Linked DNA regions of Homo sapiens: region 2 is linked to region 1. Evidence: promoter capture Hi-C in human tissues and cell types (Jung and others, 2019). All regions are on one chromosome and are shown on one strand. The core of a region is centred on a gene start or on the middle of the fragment in contact, and the rest is flanking DNA. Distances in the headings are between cores, read along the strand shown.

Region 1 (5,014 bases), core at 1,308-3,807:
AGGACTGTCCAGCCCATCTATGCCCTCTCCCCAGCCTGTGCCCCAAAGCTGGAGCTGCCACTCTAGGGGTGAGGGGTGGGGTGGGGAGGGGGAGGCGAAGCACTGCGGCCTGAGTTGCAGGTGGGGGGAGGGGAGGCGGAGCTTCTTTGTTGCAGAAGGTGCCAGGAGGGGGCAGGGCCAGTGGAGAGGTGGGAGGTGGGAGAGGCCCCAGCCAGGGGCTGGGACAGGTGGCTGGGTCCCTGGGGAGCAATAAGTCCCGCTTGGGCGCTGTGGGGAGGCCCTTCCTAACTCCCAAACACCATCTGTGAGGGCTGGGGGTGGGGGCAGAGTAGCGTGTGCAGAGGACTGTTCCTGGGGAGAGGCCCTGTGACCAGCGGCCTCCTCCCTGGGGAGCTGGCGGTACAATGGCCCTCTGGGCCCACGGCCTCCCGCCGCTGCTGCTGACCCAGATGAACAATTGGGGCAGGGCTGAGCCCCAGGCACCTACTTTCCCCCACCCCAGAAGCCACCAGACGTTCTGCAGACCCCAGTCCTGGCTCACAGGGAAGCTGAGCTGGAGACAAAGCCAGCCCCTCTGATGAGGGTGGAAGAGGCTGCTGGCCACTGTCCCTCTTGCAGCCTGGCTGGCAGCCAGTCTGGCAGTGGCCCTGACGTCCAGAGACAGCTTGGGTTTCCCCAGAGGCTTGTCTCTGGCCAGTGGGACCCCTCTGTCAGGCCTGGGCTTTTCTCTCCACTGTCCCAGAATGATGATCTCAGCCCCCATAGTCCCCCCAGGGTTCCTCCCACCCTTAGGGTGGGGTGTCGGGGGGTGGGGGTTGGGAGCCAGAAGGACCTTGAAGAGGGTGGTTGGGACGTTTCAGGTTCTAAGCTTGACCCACAGAGCGGAGCGTGAGCCCCGTCAGGTTGAGGTCCCTCAACTTGTAAAGGACACAATTCCCATTCTCTTTATCAGGAAGCTGAGGGGCAGGGGCCCTGTGGCAGAGAGAGAGCCCCTTAGCCCTCTCTGTTCAGTCCTCCGGTGCCCCCATCCCTGTGCATCTGTGGCTGTCACATGCAGATGTGTGGCAAGGAGAAGGTGCCCACCAGCCAGTGTCAGTTGCTCCAGGAGCCAAGCCAGGTGCCCTATCACCCTGTCTTCCCGTTCCTCCCCTCCATGGTCAGGCCCTCCTGCTCCCTCCTCTGGTCCTTCAGTTTCCCCTAGGAGGCTTCCGTGTCCTCCTGCCCCTCCTCTCCCCAACAGCGGGATGCGTCTACCTCTCCATTCTCTTCCTCCTGGTCCTTGCTCATCTCTGGTCGTGTCCAGGGTAGCACCCACGTGGCCTCCTCCACCAGCTGCAGGCCTGGCCTCCCATCTGAAACGGGGCATTCAGGCCTCGATGCTGGCCCTGCACGGAACTTGTTCCCTGCCCCTCCCTGGGATGCTTGGCCTCCTCTGTCAAGGACCTGAAAGTCGGAGGGGAGGAGGTTTCTCTGACCAGAGCTGTTCCTGGACCCTCTTTGGTGGTGTCGCTCCCAGGCACAGCTACCCCATCCCCAGCTAGTCCCCAGGCCACCCAGCTGGGCTTCTGCCTCAGTTTCCCTGCCCAAACGTGCTGTGACGTAGGGCAGTGGGCTCCGGGTTGCGACCAGCCCCTTCCCATGATTAAACCCTACTCCCTGCCCCTGCAGAGGGGTCCTCAACAGCTAACCAAGCCCCCGAACCCCAAGAAGCCACCCCATCCCACCCTCCAGCTTCCATGTCCTCCCTGCCAGCTGGGCCCGTGGCAGAGGTGCCCCTAGAAACTTGCAGACCCAGGGAGCTTTGGGATCAGAATCTGGCCTGGTGCAGGGGATGCTGGCCTCATGTCTTAGCCCAGCTCAGGCCCATGGGGGTGCCCCCCTTCCTCAACATGGGCAGGAGACACTCCAATTTGTGCAGCTCTCGACTTGGGCCTGATGCCACTTGAGACTCATCAAATCCAACAGCTTCAGAGCGCGTGCTGAGTAACAGGCATCTGGCAGGTGAGGAAACAGGAGCCCAAGACATGCAGCCAGAAATGGGGCAGTTGGATTCAAAATTAGACCTGACCGAATCCTGGGTTCCTTCTACTCGAGTAGATGCTGCTTTGGGGATGACCCTTCAACTGGTGGTTACTTGGCTTCCCTACCTGGGGAACATCCAGGGCCTCTGCTGTCAGACCCGGGGCCTTGCCTGCCTGATGGTCTTCAGGGAGGAGGCGACCCAGACCCCCGTCCAGCACGTGGCACAGCCCCAGGAGCAGTAAAGACCTGGCTGTGGGCCCAGGACCCTGCTGGGTGGTCCCCCACGGGCTGCGAAGGCTGAGCTGCCCCCCTCCAGACCCCTCCCGCCAGCGCATTCCTGGCTCCCCGGCCCCTCCCCTGGCTCCCGGGCCTCCCAGCCCCCTTCCCCGCTGGCCCAGCCCGCGTCTGAATCTGCTTCTGATTCCAGCTCTGCGATGAGGCCCCCTCCCCTCCCCTGCCTCCTTCCCGACCCGAGCAGCCCCGCCCCCGGCTGGGCCCGGGCTTGCGCCTGCTGCGCCCCCCACCCCCTCCTGGCACAGCTCGTCCGCCCTCGCTGCAGCCGGGAGGAGGCGGCGGCCCGTGCACCGCAGGCCCCGCCCGCCCACGGCCCTTCCCGGGAGGCCGGGAGACCTGCTCCGCCCGGCCCTCGGTGGGTGAGTGCGAGCGGCGGGTGGGGCCTCCGCGGGCGGAGGCACCGGGAGCGGGGGCGACGCCTGTCATCGCTCTAGGCCCAGCGGGAGGACGCGCCAACATCCCCGCTGCTGTGCTGGGCCCGGGGCGTGCCCGCCGCTGCTCCCACCTCTGGGCCGGGCTGGGGCCGCCCGGGGGCCCTGTTCCTCGGCATTGCGGGCCTGGTGGGCAGAGCCGCGGAGAGGGCTTCTTTTCCCCAAGGGCAGCGTCTTGGGGCCCGGCCACTGGCTGACCCGCAGCGGCTCCGGCCATGCCTGGCTGGCCCTGGGGGCTGCTGCTGACGGCAGGCACGCTCTTCGCCGCCCTGAGTCCTGGGCCGCCGGCGCCCGCCGACCCCTGCCACGATGAGGGGGGTGCGCCCCGCGGCTGCGTGCCAGGACTGGTGAACGCCGCCCTGGGCCGCGAGGTGCTGGCTTCCAGCACGTGCGGGCGGCCGGCCACTCGGGCCTGCGACGCCTCCGACCCGCGACGGGCACACTCCCCCGCCCTCCTTACTTCCCCAGGGGGCACGGCCAGCCCTCTGTGCTGGCGCTCGGAGTCCCTGCCTCGGGCGCCCCTCAACGTGACTCTCACGGTGCCCCTGGGCAAGGCTTTTGAGCTGGTCTTCGTGAGCCTGCGCTTCTGCTCAGCTCCCCCAGCCTCCGTGGCCCTGCTCAAGTCTCAGGACCATGGCCGCAGCTGGGCCCCGCTGGGCTTCTTCTCCTCCCACTGTGACCTGGACTATGGCCGTCTGCCTGCCCCTGCCAATGGCCCAGCTGGCCCAGGGCCTGAGGCCCTGTGCTTCCCCGCACCCCTGGCCCAGCCTGATGGCAGCGGCCTTCTGGCCTTCAGCATGCAGGACAGCAGCCCCCCAGGCCTGGACCTGGACAGCAGCCCAGTGCTCCAAGACTGGGTGACCGCCACCGACGTCCGTGTAGTGCTCACAAGGCCTAGCACGGCAGGTGACCCCAGGGACATGGAGGCCGTCGTCCCTTACTCCTACGCAGCCACCGACCTCCAGGTGGGCGGGCGCTGCAAGTGCAATGGACATGCCTCACGGTGCCTGCTGGACACACAGGGCCACCTGATCTGCGACTGTCGGCATGGCACCGAGGGCCCTGACTGCGGCCGCTGCAAGCCCTTCTACTGCGACAGGCCATGGCAGCGGGCCACTGCCCGGGAATCCCACGCCTGCCTCGGTGAGGCCTTGGAGGGTGGCCTGGGGACCTTGGACACAACCAGCCTGCCCCTGACCCATCCCTCCCTGCAGCTTGCTCCTGCAACGGCCATGCCCGCCGCTGCCGCTTCAACATGGAGCTGTACCGACTGTCCGGCCGCCGCAGCGGGGGTGTCTGTCTCAACTGCCGGCACAACACCGCCGGCCGCCACTGCCACTACTGCCGGGAGGGCTTCTATCGAGACCCTGGCCGTGCCCTGAGTGACCGTCGGGCTTGCAGGGGTGAGCCACCACCGGCCACCTGCAGGCCCTCACCCTCTGACTTCCCAGATCCCCAGACAGGCTTCTGACCAGGCCCTTCCCACCTCTGTCCTCAGCCTGCGACTGTCACCCGGTTGGTGCTGCTGGCAAGACCTGCAACCAGACCACAGGCCAGTGTCCCTGCAAGGATGGCGTCACTGGCCTCACCTGCAACCGCTGCGCGCCTGGCTTCCAGCAAAGCCGCTCCCCAGTGGCGCCCTGTGTTAGTGAGTGACCCTGCCCCGCCTCAGCCACCAAGCCAAGGCCACCCCAGCTCCCTGCTGTTGTCCCGTCTATTCCCCGAGCCCTGCAGATCTCTCTGCCCCTCCATCGCAGGCCATTCTCCCTCCCTCTCTGCAGAGACCCCTATCCCTGGACCCACTGAGGACAGCAGCCCTGTGCAGCCCCAGGGTGAGTGGACACAGGACAGGGCCCCAGACTGGCATGACTTTGGGGGAGGGGGCTCTGGGAGGAGAGGGTGGGGAAAGGGAGTCTGTGCCAGCCTCCCACCTTCTACCCAGACTGTGACTCGCACTGCAAACCTGCCCGTGGCAGCTACCGCATCAGCCTAAAGAAGTTCTGCAAGAAGGACTATGGTAGGTGCCCTCAGGCCTCCCGCGGACCTTCCCACCTTCCTCCTCTCCCTACCTTCCCTCCTCCGCCAGCTTCCCCTTGGAACGCCTTGACCCTTGCTGGGCCCCAAGGCCCATCCTCATCCCTCAGGTCCTCCACGGGCAGCGACCCCGCCCCTTCAGCCCCCACTGCCCTCCTGGTGTCCTCCCCGTGCCTCCCCCTACCGCGGGCAGGCCGCCCCTTCCTGACCCCGCCCCCTCTCGCTCTCCCCGC
Region 2 (5,014 bases), core at 1,114-3,613, 230 kb before region 1:
GCAGGGAGCCAGGGGATCTGTGGGCAGGTGGCAGGCGGCCTGGCGGGCCCGCGGGTGATGGGCTTGGCCTGATGCTGTGTGTGGCTGCAGGGCCGAGGCCGTTCGCCTGCGCGCAGTGTGGCAAGGCCTTCCCCAAGGCCTACCTGCTCAAGAAGCACCAGGAGGTGCACGTGCGTGAGCGCCGCTTCCGCTGTGGCGACTGCGGGAAGCTCTACAAGACCATTGCCCATGTGCGTGGCCACCGGCGCGTCCACTCAGACGAGCGGCCCTACCCTTGTCCCAAGTGTGGCAAGCGCTACAAGACTAAGGTGGGTCTCTGGCCGCAGGACCCTGGCGCCTGATCCCCCCATCCTGCTCCCTGGCCGTGGCCCAGGTGCACCCCCTTCCCTGCCTCCACCATGCTCAGTCTTGACCCAGCCCCTCCCTTGGGCCACAGGCGGGAGGGGAGAGCTGTAGTCTGTTGTGGCCAAGGCCAGGCTGGCACTGACAGGTGTCTCCACAGAACGCACAGCAGGTGCACTTCAGGACACACCTGGAGGAGAAGCCGCACGTGTGCCAGTTCTGCAGCCGTGGCTTCCGAGAGAAGGGCTCACTGGTGCGGCACGTGCGACACCACACAGGCGAGAAGCCGTTCAAGTGCTACAAGTGCGGCCGTGGCTTCGCCGAGCACGGCACGCTGAACCGGCACCTGCGCACCAAAGGTCTGGGCCGGTGGAGGTGGGAGGGGGAGGGGAGGGGGCCGGGGCTTGCCTAGCCCTGACCGAGTCCCCACCCACAGGGGGCTGCCTGCTGGAGGTGGAGGAGTTGCTGGTGTCTGAGGACAGCCCCGCGGCAGCCACCACCGTCCTCACGGAAGACCCGCACACAGTGTTGGTGGAGTTCTCGTCCGTGGTAGCTGACACCCAGGAGTATATCATCGAGGTGGGTGTGGGGCCCTGGGGCCGTGCTGGGACCCAGGGGCAGCCAAGGCTGACCTCTGTCCTTCTGCCCATCTGCCCAGGCCACTGCGGACGATGCGGAGACCAGTGAGGCCACGGAGATCATCGAGGGCACCCAGACAGAGGTGAGGGGTAGGGCAGGCGGGGGCGGGGAGGCTCCCTGGCACAGCCGCTCTTGCTGAGCCGTGGCCCTGCAGGTGGACAGCCACATCATGAAGGTGGTGCAGCAGATCGTGCACCAGGCTAGCGCCGGCCACCAGATCATCGTGCAGAACGTCACCATGGACGAGGAGACGGCGCTGGGCCCAGAGGCGGCTGCCGCCGACACCATCACCATCGCCACCCCCGAGAGCCTGACAGAGCAGGTGGCCATGACGCTGGCCTCGGCCATCAGCGAGGGCACTGTGCTTGCCGCCCGGGCAGGGACAAGTGGCACTGAACAGGCCACTGTGACCATGGTGTCATCAGAGGACATCGAGATCCTGGAGCATGCAGGCGAGCTGGTCATCGCCTCGCCGGAGGGCCAGCTGGAGGTGCAGACGGTCATCGTCTAGCATGAGGTCTGCGGGGTCCTGGCCGGGCAGGGACAGGGCAGAGGACTCTGAGCGCCCCACCCATGCCTGCCTGGCCTGGTAGAGAAGATGGCACAGGATGGAGGCGCCCCAAGACGGACAGTGTACATAAGAGTTTCTTGTTGCTTTACAATAAAACATGAGAACCTGCAGCTTGTGATGTTGTGGCAGTGGCAGCCTCCGCGGCTGGTGCCACCACCTTTGCCCAGGCCCCCGCAGCAGCACCTGCCTCCCAGGCCACTCCTAGACTCACGTGCCTGGCCGCCCCACCCAGGGGCTTCTGCCAGCCCTGGCGGCGCCTTGGTGCTGTGTGGGTGTCATTGGCATGTTGACCAACAGCCTCCTGCCCTGCCCAGCTGGAGCTGTGCCCCCAGCTGCGCTGCCTGAGGCCTGTGGGTGGGTGGGAGGACCAGGGACGGGGACAGGGAGATCTGGGAGCCTCGGCCTCCACCGCAGGGTGAGCAGGTGGAGCAGCAGCAGGAGATGCTGGGTAGGGAGTGTGGCTGGTCCTACCTGCGCTGCCTTGCTTTCCCTGAAGGGATTCTGCTCAGGGAGGCAGAGTCTAGGCGACCTAATTTCTAGGGGCGAGGACAAGAACACAGCCGCACCGGGATGTGGCTGACCGTCTACCTCCCTCCTAGGGGGCTGGCAGGGGCTTCTGGGACGGTTTTGGGACAGGTCTGGGGCACCAGAACCGGCTCAGGCAGGTCTCCCACCCCTTACCCTGGGGGTCTCCATGGGAATGAAAGCCAGGAGTTCATCAGGCACCCAGCTGAGTCGAGGGGGCGGGACCCAGTGCAGCCCGGCCCCTCCCTGGCCCAGGACCTCAAATACCGGCCCCTGCCTTGGTGCCAGAGCTACTGCCAGAGGGAGTCAGTGCAGTCCTGTGTCGGACACGCCCGCAGCCTGGACCCGGGATCCCCATCCCCCTAGGATCTCTGAGCCTCGGGCCTCTGCACCCACATCCAAGGTGAGTCTCTCGGCTGCCCTGAGCTGGGGCTGGATGGGCCGGACCCTCCATTCCGGCTGCAGCTTCCCGCGCAGTGAGAAGGCAGCGGTCCCTGAGAGCCCAGCAGTGCCCTGGGAGCCTGCAGAACGCAGGGGCGGATTCCGCGTCGCACTGGCCGTCAAGGGGCGGCCGCGGAGGGAAGGGGTGGGTCGGTGGGTCTGACAGCGGGTCTGCGTAGGCGGCAGCGTCTGTCCCTCCCAGCCTCTCGCTCCGCGCCATGGGCGGGCCCCGGGCTCTGCTGGCCGCACTCTGGGCGCTGGAAGCCGCCGGGACCGCCGCGCTTCGCATCGGAGCCTTCAACATTCAGAGCTTCGGTGACAGCAAAGTGTCGGACCCCGCTTGCGGCAGCATCATCGCGAAGGTGGGGCCCGGGCCGGGGCGGGGCGGCGTTTAGGGGTGCTGACCGCGCTGACCCCCGCACCCGCCGCTCCTCCCCAGATCCTGGCTGGCTATGACCTCGCGCTGGTGCAGGAGGTGCGAGACCCAGACCTCAGCGCCGTGTCCGCGCTCATGGAGCAGATCAACAGGTGTGGTGGGCAGGGCCCCTCGTCGCGACCCCCCGCCGGGATCTCGCCCCGGCGCGGCGCCCCGACCCTGAGCGGGCCCCTGTCTCCGCAGCGTGTCCGAGCACGAGTACAGCTTTGTGAGCAGCCAGCCCCTGGGCCGGGACCAGTACAAGGAGATGTACCTGTTCGTGTACAGGTGAGGGGCGGGCCGCAGGGAGGGGCGCGCGGGGCCGCAGGTCGGGGGCTCAGCGGGTCCTCCCCATCTCCTAGGAAAGACGCGGTGTCGGTCGTGGACACCTACCTGTACCCAGACCCCGAGGACGTCTTCAGCCGCGAGCCCTTCGTGGTCAAGTTCTCGGCCCCCGGCACCGGTGAGCGGGCCCCGCCCCTCCCCTCCCGCCGAGCTCTGACGCCCCCACCCCTTCCCGCAGCAGCACAGAACCTGGTGCTGATCCCGCTGCACGCGGCGCCGCATCAAGCCGTGGCGGAGATCGACGCGCTCTACGACGTGTACCTGGACGTGATCGACAAGTGGGGCACCGACGTAAGCCCACCCCTCGGTCCCGGGGTCCCTGCAGGCGCGCCCCGGGGGTCTGGTTCATGAGGGCGGGACCTCGACGGCTCCTGCGGCGGCTCAGACACGGCTCCGCGGCGCCCGCAGGACATGCTGTTCCTGGGCGACTTCAACGCCGACTGCAGCTATGTGCGGGCGCAGGACTGGGCCGCCATCCGTCTGAGGAGCAGTGAGGTCTTCAAGTGGCTCATCCCTGACAGCGCCGACACCACGGTGGGCAACTCAGACTGCGCCTACGACCGCATTGTGGCCTGTGGCGCCCGCCTGCGCCGGAGCCTGAAGCCCCAGTCGGCCACCGTGCACGACTTCCAGGAGGAATTCGGCCTGGACCAGACTCAGGCGAGTGGGCCGTGGGGCGGTGCTGGTCTTGGGTCCCCACCGCCCGGGCGCACGCAGGCAGCAGGGAGGGTCCAGCGCCCAAGGCAGGGCCACCTCAGCTTCCTCCCTGCACCAGGGCTCGTTTCCAAGGACCCTGGAGAGCCCGGCCCACCCCATGTGGAGCTCTGGGCAGGCAGGGTACCTTGCCTTTCCCTCAAAGGGCCAGTGGTGACACCCTCTGCCCCGGCCCCTGCCCCTGCCCCACCGCAGGCAGCAGCAGGGGTGGGCACCCAGGCCTCACCGGCCCCTCCCATCCCTGTGGGTGGGGTGCACTTTTCCCCTGAGGCTCACTCTGTCCCCACAGGCTCTTGCCATCAGCGACCACTTTCCAGTGGAGGTGACCCTCAAGTTCCACCGATGACTCGAGGCCTGGCTGGGGCATGCCACCTGCAGACCCTGGCTCTGAGGAATGGCCCAACAGTGGCCCCTTCAGGGTGGCAGCCACCCTTCAGTGAGGCCCCAAGGCAGAGTCGGCTGGGCGTGGACCAGGGGCCATGGACACGTGATGTGCTGCTCTGTACCTCCGTTCCCCATCTGTGGGACGGGCTGCATCCAGCGACCTCATGGGGTGTTGTGAGCCCCATGAGGGGTGCAGGGGGCACTGCCCGGCAGATGTCTGCTCAATAAATGAGCTGCTCCCGGTCGGGCCCCACAGCTTGGCTCCCAGGCCTCTGTCCTTCCTTAGGACCCAGCCTCAGCTCCTTAGGGGCAGCCATGGCCTGGGCTGCCCACCCCATGTCCTGGTGGGACGTGGCTGCCCCCGGAGCCTGCTGGCCCCAGAAGGCAGCTCAGGGATGCTCCTTGCTCATCCTCTGTGGAAACTACAAACACTCCCAGGAGCCTGTACTGTGAGCACAGCTGGGACAGGGATGGCGCCAACACACCAGCCTCCTGGGCCCTCGGGGCTCTCAGAACAGCTCTCCCCAGGCCCACCCCGCAGCCCCCATTCCAGGGCCCTGCAGGGGCCCCCAGGCACTTGTCTGTCTCAAGAGCCCGGTCTTACCCAGCACTGCAAGGGGAGGCCAGCCCCAGCTAGT

What was found. The method cuts DNA at HindIII sites, captures the fragments that hold promoters and counts their contacts. A contact is called where the count stands out against the background at its distance.
Region 2: a contact is called between the fragment with the promoter of DNASE1L2 here and the fragment with the promoter of NTN3 in region 1, in 1 of the 25 tissues and cell types used here (lymphoblastoid cells).

The regions. Positions count from the first base shown.
Region 1 is chr16:2,468,740-2,473,753 of GRCh38, forward strand. NTN3 (netrin 3) reads left to right here and starts at 2,558. Exons shown (of 6, transcript NM_006181.3): 1 at 2,558-3,890; 2 at 3,962-4,150; 3 at 4,246-4,395; 4 at 4,529-4,579; 5 at 4,690-4,764. The coding sequence starts at 2,963. RefSeq lists enhancers at 1-423, 383-522, 683-762 and silencers at 2,696-2,835, 4,990-5,014. The HindIII fragment of the contact is 12,116 bases long and covers 1-5,014 here.
Region 2 is chr16:2,234,081-2,239,094 of GRCh38, forward strand. It overlaps DNASE1L2 (deoxyribonuclease 1 like 2), which reads left to right and starts at 2,364. Exons shown (of 7, transcript NM_001374.3): 1 at 2,364-2,480; 2 at 2,698-2,880; 3 at 2,958-3,046; 4 at 3,138-3,221; 5 at 3,296-3,569; 6 at 3,687-3,938; 7 at 4,282-4,631. The coding sequence starts at 2,737. The coding sequence ends at 4,338. It overlaps E4F1 (E4F transcription factor 1), which reads left to right. Exons shown (of 14, transcript NM_004424.5): 10 at 91-308; 11 at 503-701; 12 at 779-921; 13 at 1,001-1,063; 14 at 1,136-1,662. The coding sequence ends at 1,492. The HindIII fragment of the contact is 25,906 bases long and covers 1-5,014 here.